Linked DNA regions of Homo sapiens: all the other regions are linked to region 3. Evidence: promoter capture Hi-C in 16 types of primary human blood cells and fetal thymus (Javierre and others, 2016). All regions are on one chromosome and are shown on one strand. The core of a region is centred on a gene start or on the middle of the fragment in contact, and the rest is flanking DNA. Distances in the headings are between cores, read along the strand shown. Region 1 overlaps DTWD2 (DTW motif tRNA-uridine aminocarboxypropyltransferase 2). Region 2 overlaps DTWD2 (DTW motif tRNA-uridine aminocarboxypropyltransferase 2). Region 3 holds the start of HSD17B4 (hydroxysteroid 17-beta dehydrogenase 4).

Region 1 (2,700 bases), core at 134-2,633, 530 kb after region 3:
AGGAAATTATTCAAGCTTTCTACTTCTATTTAGATCAGTTTTTAATAACTTTTATATTTCTCTAGGGAATTATCTCTTTTCTCTAAGTTAGCAGATTGGTTGCCATATACTTATATACAGTCTTAAATAATTATTTTAATTACTCAGGAATGCATTTTTTTCTTGTTTTTAATCATACACACACAGACATAGACACACACACATACACAAACGTTTTTTACACAAACAGATTCAAAAGGGGTTTCTCTATTTTATAGAACTTTTAAAATATAAGCTTTTAGGTTGTTTATATTGGCTATTATAGTTTATTTTTATTTCATTACGTTGAACTTTTTTCTCGACCAATTTTATATTTCATCTTTTTGGGCTTATTTTCTTCTATTATTCTTCTGATTTTATAAGATTTTTACTAAGAGTACTTCTGTAGACTGAATTGTGTTCCCTGTCCCTCCCCCGACCCCATGCATATATTGGAGCCCTAACTTCCAATATAATGGTATTTGGAGATGGGACCTTTGGGAGGTGATTAGATTATGAAGGCAGAGCCCTCATGATGGGATTAGTACCTTTAGAAGAAGAGACATGAGAGATACTTCCTTTTTGCTCTCTGTCTCTCTCCGTCTCTCTTTGTCTCTCTCTCTCTCTTTCTCTGTCTCTCTCTGCATGTGAGGACACAGCAAGAAGACTTCCATTTGCAAGCCAGGAAGAGAGCTCTCACCAGGACCGTGACCATGCAGGTGCTCTGATTCAGACTTCCCAGCTTCTAGAACTGTGAGAAATGAATGTTACAACAGCCTAAGCTGACTAAAACAAGTACTAAATTTCTTTATTAAGATTTCTGAGTTCTGCTAGGCTTGGTGGCTTGTACCTATAACTCCAGCTACTTGTGAGGCTGAGGTGGGAGGATCACTTGAGCCCAGGAGTTTGAGGTTACAGTGAGCTATGATTGTGCCACTGCACTCCAGCCTGGGTGCCAGAGAGAGACCCTGTCTCCAAAAAAAAAAATCACTTTCTTTTTTGAACAAAAGGGGCGAGATGGATGCAATATTTCCGCTAGTATAACTGTCACTGTATCCCATTATTTTGGGTTAAAGTGTTCTTTTATCAGTAACATTGATATAAGTTGTTTTGATTTCTTTCTACCCATGGATTATCAATGAATTCTTTTTTTTAAAATTTCAATAGCTTTTGGGGTACAAGTGGTTTTTGGTTACATGGATGAATTCTGTAGTGGTGAATTCTGAGATTTTAGTGCACCCGTCACCTGAGCAGTGTACACTGTACCGAATATTTAGTGTTTTACTCCTCACCTCCCTCCTTCCACCCAGAGTCCCCAAAATTTATTATGTACATCTTTGCATCCTCATAGCTTAGCTCCCACTTATAAGTGAGAACATAACGGAATTTGGTTTTCCATTCCTGGGTTACTTCACTTAGAATAATGGCCTCCAGTTCCATCCAAGTTGCTGCAAAATGAACTTAGTTTGTTCATTTTTATGGCTGAGTAGTATTCCGTGGTATATATATACTACATTTTCTTTGTCCACTCATTGGTTGATGGGCACTTAGATTGGTTCCACGTCTTTGCAGTTGTGAATCGTGCTGCTATAAACATGCCTGCGCATGTGTCTTTTTTTTCTTTTTAAATTGAAATGAGGTCCCACTGTGTTGTCCAGGCTGGCCTTGAACTCCAGGGCTCAAGTGATCCTCTCCCTACCTCGGCTTCCCAAAGTGCTGGGGTTACAGGCATGAGGCATCACACTTTGTTTATGTGTTTTTTTCATATAATGACTTATTTTCCTTTGGGTAAATACCCAGTAGTGGGATTGCTTGACTGAACGGTAGATCTACTTTTAGTTCTTTTTTTTTTTGAGATGGAGTCTTGCTTTGTCACCCAGGCTGGAGTGCAGTGGCACAATCTCGGCTCACTGCCAGCTCCGCCTCCCGGGTTCACACCATTCTCCTGCCTCAGCCTCCTGAGTAGCTGGGACTACAGGTACCCGCCACTGCGCCCGGCTAATTTTTTGTATTTTTAGTAGAGACAGGGTTTCACCATGTTAGCCAGGATGGTCTCGATTTCCTGACCTTGTGATCCACCCGCCTCGGCCTCCCAAAGTGCTGGAATTACAGGCATGAGCCACCGTGCCTGGCCTACTTTTAGTTCTTTAAGGAATCTCCATACTATCAATGAGTTCTTAATTCTTAAGTGTTTTAACACTTTTCATCATTATTTTACTTTTATTTCTGATTTTTGGAATCGTGATAAAAGAGCATTAGCCACGCTATTTTGAATAAGTTTATGATTTCTGTGTGAATAGGTACCTGGTAGATTTTTGTTCATGTTCTATTACTATAAAAATGTACATTCTCTATTTAGGGATGTAAACATTCATACTATTGCTTTTAAGTTTGTTAATTGTATTTTTCTTTATGTTTTTATTTTTTGGTATACTTGGACTGTTTGATACTGTAAAAGGATTATGAAAAGCTTTAGTGCTTATGTATTTTTAACGATGTTATCCCTGCATTCCCAGTAGTTTTTGTGTTATCTGCTCTGTTGTTGGGTGCATACAAGCCATACACTTAGTGAAGAATAACAATGGAACCCTGACTTCTGAGGTTTTAAACTTAAATTCTTTATAGTTTTTATTCCCTTTGACCAAAATGCAGACATTGTTTTTAGATGAGACTAAAATACAT
Region 2 (2,700 bases), core at 143-2,642, 540 kb after region 3:
GTGGAAGAAATCTCTAAGCGAAGTGTTGAGGGTGAGGCATGACTTCTCTTAAATGCTTATAGTAAAATGCAAAAAGAAACAAATTAAAGATGGAATTTATAATCAAAAGAGGAGCAGAACTTTTAAAGATTTGGAAAATTGTCACCCTGGCCATGTTTTAAACAATGAAAAAGTGTGTTTGGGAGAGAGCACCAAGGGTATGGCTAAATGAATGTTCACATGTTATAAGGAGATTGGTATGGATGGGCAGAAGCCAGGTGCTGTTCACCAAGACAAGGAAAGAATAACCCTGAAGTCATTTTGGAGACCACTGGGCCTGCTACTCTCATCACAAGCTTCAGTAAATGAATATCTTATGTGCAGGAGGAGAGCACTGATGGGCTGACTGGAGGGCATATTGTGTAGCATGCTATGGAACCAGGTCTAGTGGCATGGAGTGCTAAGTACGGGGGAATACAGTGGCTTCAGGTCTGAGGCAGGGGCACAGTGTCTCGTCATTTCAGGCAGCTCTCTGTGTTATTGTTAGCTACATAGTCATTGGTGGCAAGAATTGTGGGAGGTCCTTGGTAGCTGTGAGGGCTGTTTGGACTCTTATCTGTGCTTATGGATCTGGCACTGGGGCTTCAGCCCTGAAATCTGCATGTGTGCGCTTGCAGGGTCTGATTGCAGCAGTGTGCACACTGGTGGAAGCTGAACCTGGTGGCAGGGCCCTGGGGTGGTAGTGGACATGTGTGGGGTGGCTGCCCTGGTTCCCAGGGCTGGGTTGCCCATGGTGATGCTTACTAAGGTAGCTTAGGCAAGTGAAGTCTGAGAAGGTGAAAAACTGGTAGGCCCTTGTTAGTAAAAGCTGTTGGGGGTCTGCAGTGGCTTGGCTGGCTATTGGTTTCCTCAGTGGTGAAAGCTTCTTGAGTCCTCTGCAAAGCAGGCCTCTGGGGTTCATGATTATGAACACTTGAGGTCCTCAGTGCTCACAACTGTGGGGCATCTGCAGTGACCCCAAGGGCTGTTGAGTTGAGTTTCTCCATGTTGAAAGGTGTTAGAGTCTTTTGCTGAGAAGGCCACAACCTGCCATGTGGTTGATGCCAATAGGCCACACACTTCTTTGTTCCTAGCTGTTTCCAGGTGACTCAGCTATGCGGGTCTCCCCATTGATCTGGGTGGAGTATAACTGCAGCAGAACCCTAAAAGGATGGAGAAACTGGTGCTTACCTTAATCTTTTCTCTTGTGAAGGGAACTCGGGTCAGGGAGTTTCCTTGTATTGCTAAGCACCGTTGGCTTCATTCAGGAAAAATGAGACTGTTTTTACCATCTTTGGGCAGTTATTTTTGGGCTTTTGCTCTACTGTGTTGCTGCAGCTCCTTAACTCCTGAGCTCTTTTAGAGCTATTTTCGTTTGTGGATAATAGTTTTTTGTGGGTGGAGGAAGGCTGGTATCTCCTACTTTGCCTTCTCACTGACGTTCTTTCTGATCAATTGTGTTTTAGCTTAAGTGATTTGAGTTTAATTTTTCATCACCCGCAACTGAAATGTTTTAACCAGAAGGGCAGTGCAGTCTTCAGGTTACATTTTCTTTTCTATTACTTTTGTTCATTTTGATGGGTATCAGTGAGTTGGTTTCTTTTTTTTTTTTTGGTGGTGGTGGTGGGTGTGGGATGCATTTGTTTTGTCGGTTTCCCTAGAAGTTGGTTTATCTTGCATTCATAATTCAGTCTCTACAAATTTGAATTTACTCATTTGTTATTTATTCTAGGCTATATAAGACACGGTTTGACATTAGAAGATATGTGTTTGAAATCTGTTTTCTTAATTACTAGCTCTTTGACTAACACAACTCATTTAATTTCTCTGAGCCATAGTTTACCCAGAAATGCAATGAAGCTTGGGTTTTTTGTTTTTGTTTTTGGCACTCATTGATGTATCTAGGGTGTTAGATACACTGGCTGCCAGCTGTTTTAGCTCCAAGCCAGGCATATATGAGGCAAAATGAAAATCCAGGGAACTCACCCGTATCACTCCTTGGTCCTGAGGATCCTGAGGTCCCTATGCAGGTCTTCTTTCTTCTCATCACTTTTCAGTCTTTTCAGGTTATTTTTTATATGTAATGTCCAGTTTTTTGTTGTACTTAGGAGGAAAAACAGGGAAAACTACATCTGTTTCATCTTCATGGACACAGAAGTCCTGAGCTCATTTTTAATAAACATGAAATTAAATAATTTTAGAGGTGCAAGGCATCTTCATCTTCAAGGCAAGTTTATATGGTCCAGTGATGGTTAGTTTTATGTGTCCACTTGAGTGAGCCACTGGGTGCCCAAATATTTGTTTAAAAATTATTCTGAGTATTTCTCTAAGTATTTTGCAGGAGATTAACATTTTTATTGATCGAGTAAAGCAGATTGTCTGCCATAATATGGGTGGGCTTTATCCAGTCAGTTGAAGGCTTGAATAGAACATAAAGACCGACCCTCCCCTGAGTAAGAGAAGAATTCTCCAGCAGACTGCCTTTGGACTTCATCTGTGCCACTGACTCCTGGGTGACCTTTGGACTTTTTTTTTTTTTTTTGATATGGAGTCTCGCTGTCACCCAGGCTGAGTGCAGTGGCACAATCTTGGCTCACTGCAGTCTTCGCCTCTCAGGTTCAAGTGATTGTCCTGCCTTAGCCTCCCGAGTAGCTGGGATTGCAGGCATGTGCCACCATGCCT
Region 3 (2,700 bases), core at 123-2,622:
AGCGTTGTAAAATACATTATTTACAATAAAAGCAAAGTGTAAACAAAATGTTTTCCTAAAAACATTTAGAAGGTATGACTACACCCAAATACATGCCCATGCAGAGATAACCAGACAGCTATGGGTATAAAATACTTGGCTATTCATCAACACTGAAAGCATTTTCTGAAAGGCAGCATAAGAAGCCACTTTATCAATACAGATATGAAAGTACATAGGAATTAATTGACAGAATTCCAGTTTGTAACGTTTAATATATAACTCAAATAATTCATGCATTAGGGCCTTTCCAGGTATAAGGTACTACCAGTGGAGAATCAAAGGTGCATAATGTCAAGATCCCTGCACTTGGAGGTTACAGAGGTCACCCACTGGTGAGAAACTAATGTAAAATCTCACTGCACAGCATCTATGTTGGTATGAATGGTTTGTTTTAATTTTTTGTACTTTAAAAAATGGGGCTATTTCACATAACAATTTTCCATTTTGCCGCTCCTGAAATACAGGCAACTTTCCCACTGGCCGGTCCACTTCGGAATTCTCTGCTCTCCAGTTCCTCAGATGTGCCCATCCTACTCCCATTTTCTTTCTCCATCATACGCCTGACCCCTGTGCGCATTTGAGCTTACAACCTCTGCCAAGACTCCAGTGGATTTCGAGAACAGATTGTGACTTGCTAAGCATACAAACTCCAACGGGGAAGGGCTCTTATCAGACGCCCTCTTTAAAGAAGGTCCTCTCACGAACTTAAAATCTTACGACAGAGGGAAACAAACACTGAACGACCGAATGACTTTTCAGGAGCTGACATCTCTGCGCTTCAGGGGGCGAATTCCAGCCCCCGCCCCTCGCGGCTTTTCAGTCCTTTAAAAGACTAGGCAAAGATCTAAGAGAGTTAATTGCAGGAAGAGTAACAATCGATGCCCACAGATAAGGGTCAGGGAGAACTTTCACCCAGTTTTGCAATCAGCAGCCCAGCCTGGCCTCTCCTCTCAGGCAGGACCTTGGGAAGCCCACACCGGGGTGCTGGGGAGAAGCGGGCTGTACCTGCTTGAGAGACCAGGTGTTTCCGGCTCTTTCCTCCTCAAGAGATGCGGTGCCTCAAGAATAACCATTCCCCTCCCCACCACCTCAGCGGGGTGACCTCAGCTGCGGCTGCGCGCGTATGCCGGCCCGAAAAGAGCAGCCAGCTGCGCCTCAGCAAGGGGCGCGGCCTCCAACCTTCGCATGCTCACCTGCCCCCGCGCCGGTGACCAGTACCACCCGCCCGTCGAACCTCAGCGGTGAGCCCATGAATAAGGCCTGCAACGACACACACACGAACAAGCAGAGCCGCTGGACGCCGACTGCGGGACAGGAGGAGGCGGGGAATGGCGGGGGCGGGACGAGGGTCAGTGACTTGCCGATTTCTGGTAGGAAGATGAGCGCAGAGCGCGCGGCTCCCTTGGAATCCTGGGAAATGTAGTTAAGAGTGACTCCACTCGCTGGAAGACTTGCCTTCCAGGGGCCATTTCTGCGGCTGGAAGCAATGGGAGCTGCTAGGACTTGTGTAGAAGAATAGTTAACTCGACACCTTGCGTTCATCTATTCACCTGTCGTTTCATCATTCACTCAATAAACGTTTTCTGGGTTTAGTTGCTGACCTAGAGAAACAGCATGCGGCCCCTATCCTTGAGGGGCTTCCAGAGATAGCCCCTGGGAAGGAAAGTCCCCCTTAGGGATGGTAAAGATTTGTCAGTGTAATAATCCCTGCACTTCTACATGCAAACATCAGGGGACTGTCAAAATGCAGAGTCCTGGACCCCCACTGCTTACCTCCCAAAATAGAATCTCAAGGGGCAAAAACATTTTGACAAGTGTTCCTAAATGATCTTGCGTTTGTATGTTGAGAACAGTCATAGTTCAATCAACATTTACTGAGCATCTCCTGAGTTTTGATAGGATCCTCAAGCTACTCAGAGTCAGATGGTAAACTTTCAATAACGGTGCAGCCTAGACTTGTGACCAATGTGTGTAAGTGAGCTAATGGTGTCAAAATAAACAGACCCTATCCCCGCTGGGGAGAAAGAGGAAAAACTTTCTGAAGGAGGACCAGGACCTAAAGTGGCGACCCCTGCAAAGAAAGAAGGGCATTACAGGCAGCACAAACACTAGCTAGGTTTGGGGAGAAAGAGGGTAAAGCCACAAAAGCAAAGCCAGCAAGATCATGTTTAGATGTTTGAATTTTGTGCTGAAAACGGTTTTAAGTAGGATTACTCCAGAGAGTGGTGGGAACACATTTACACTATGGAAAGATCACTTTGCCCATTATGGAGGATTGATTGGATGTTGCGGGAAGTCATGGACCCCAAACAGAGGGACCTGCTAGAGCCGCAGCAGAGGAACATAAATTGTGAAGATTTCACGGACATTTATCAGTTCCCAAATAATACTTTTATAATTTCTTATGCCTGTCTTTACTTTAATCTCTTAATCCTGTTATCTTCGTAAGCTGAAGGTGTACGTCACCTCAGGACCACTGTGATAATTGTGTTAACTGTACAAATTGATTGTAAAACATGTGTGTTTGAACAATATGAAATCAGTGCACCTTGAAAAAGAACAGAATAACAGCAATTTTTAGGGAACAAGGGAAGTCAACCATATGGGCTGACTGCCTGCGGGGTTGGGCAAAAACAGCCATATTTTTCTTCTTGCAGA

What was found. Contacts are between HindIII fragments. The CHiCAGO score rates a contact against its expected background, and 5 or more counts as called.
Region 1: a contact is called between a fragment that was not itself captured here and the fragment with the promoter of HSD17B4 in region 3, in 1 of 17 cell types (non-activated CD4 T cells). The highest score is 7.2, in non-activated CD4 T cells.
Region 2: a contact is called between a fragment that was not itself captured here and the fragment with the promoter of HSD17B4 in region 3, in 2 of 17 cell types (activated CD4 T cells and erythroblasts). The highest score is 6.2, in activated CD4 T cells.

What each region holds. Positions count from the first base shown.
Region 1 is chr5:118,925,016-118,927,715 of GRCh38, reverse strand. All of the region lies in intron 4 of DTWD2 (DTW motif tRNA-uridine aminocarboxypropyltransferase 2), which reads left to right. Among named protein-coding and RNA genes, the nearest start is that of MIR1244-2, 48 kb to the left of the region's middle. The HindIII fragment of the contact is 2,214 bases long and covers 277-2,490 here.
Region 2 is chr5:118,907,588-118,910,287 of GRCh38, reverse strand. All of the region lies in intron 4 of DTWD2 (DTW motif tRNA-uridine aminocarboxypropyltransferase 2), which reads left to right. Among named protein-coding and RNA genes, the nearest start is that of MIR1244-2, 66 kb to the left of the region's middle. The HindIII fragment of the contact is 977 bases long and covers 904-1,880 here.
Region 3 is chr5:119,451,169-119,453,868 of GRCh38, reverse strand. It overlaps HSD17B4 (hydroxysteroid 17-beta dehydrogenase 4), which reads right to left and starts at 1,372. Exons shown (of 24, transcript NM_000414.4): 1 at 1,236-1,372. The coding sequence starts at 1,293. RefSeq lists an enhancer at 1,222-1,271. The HindIII fragment of the contact is 7,394 bases long and covers 1-2,700 here.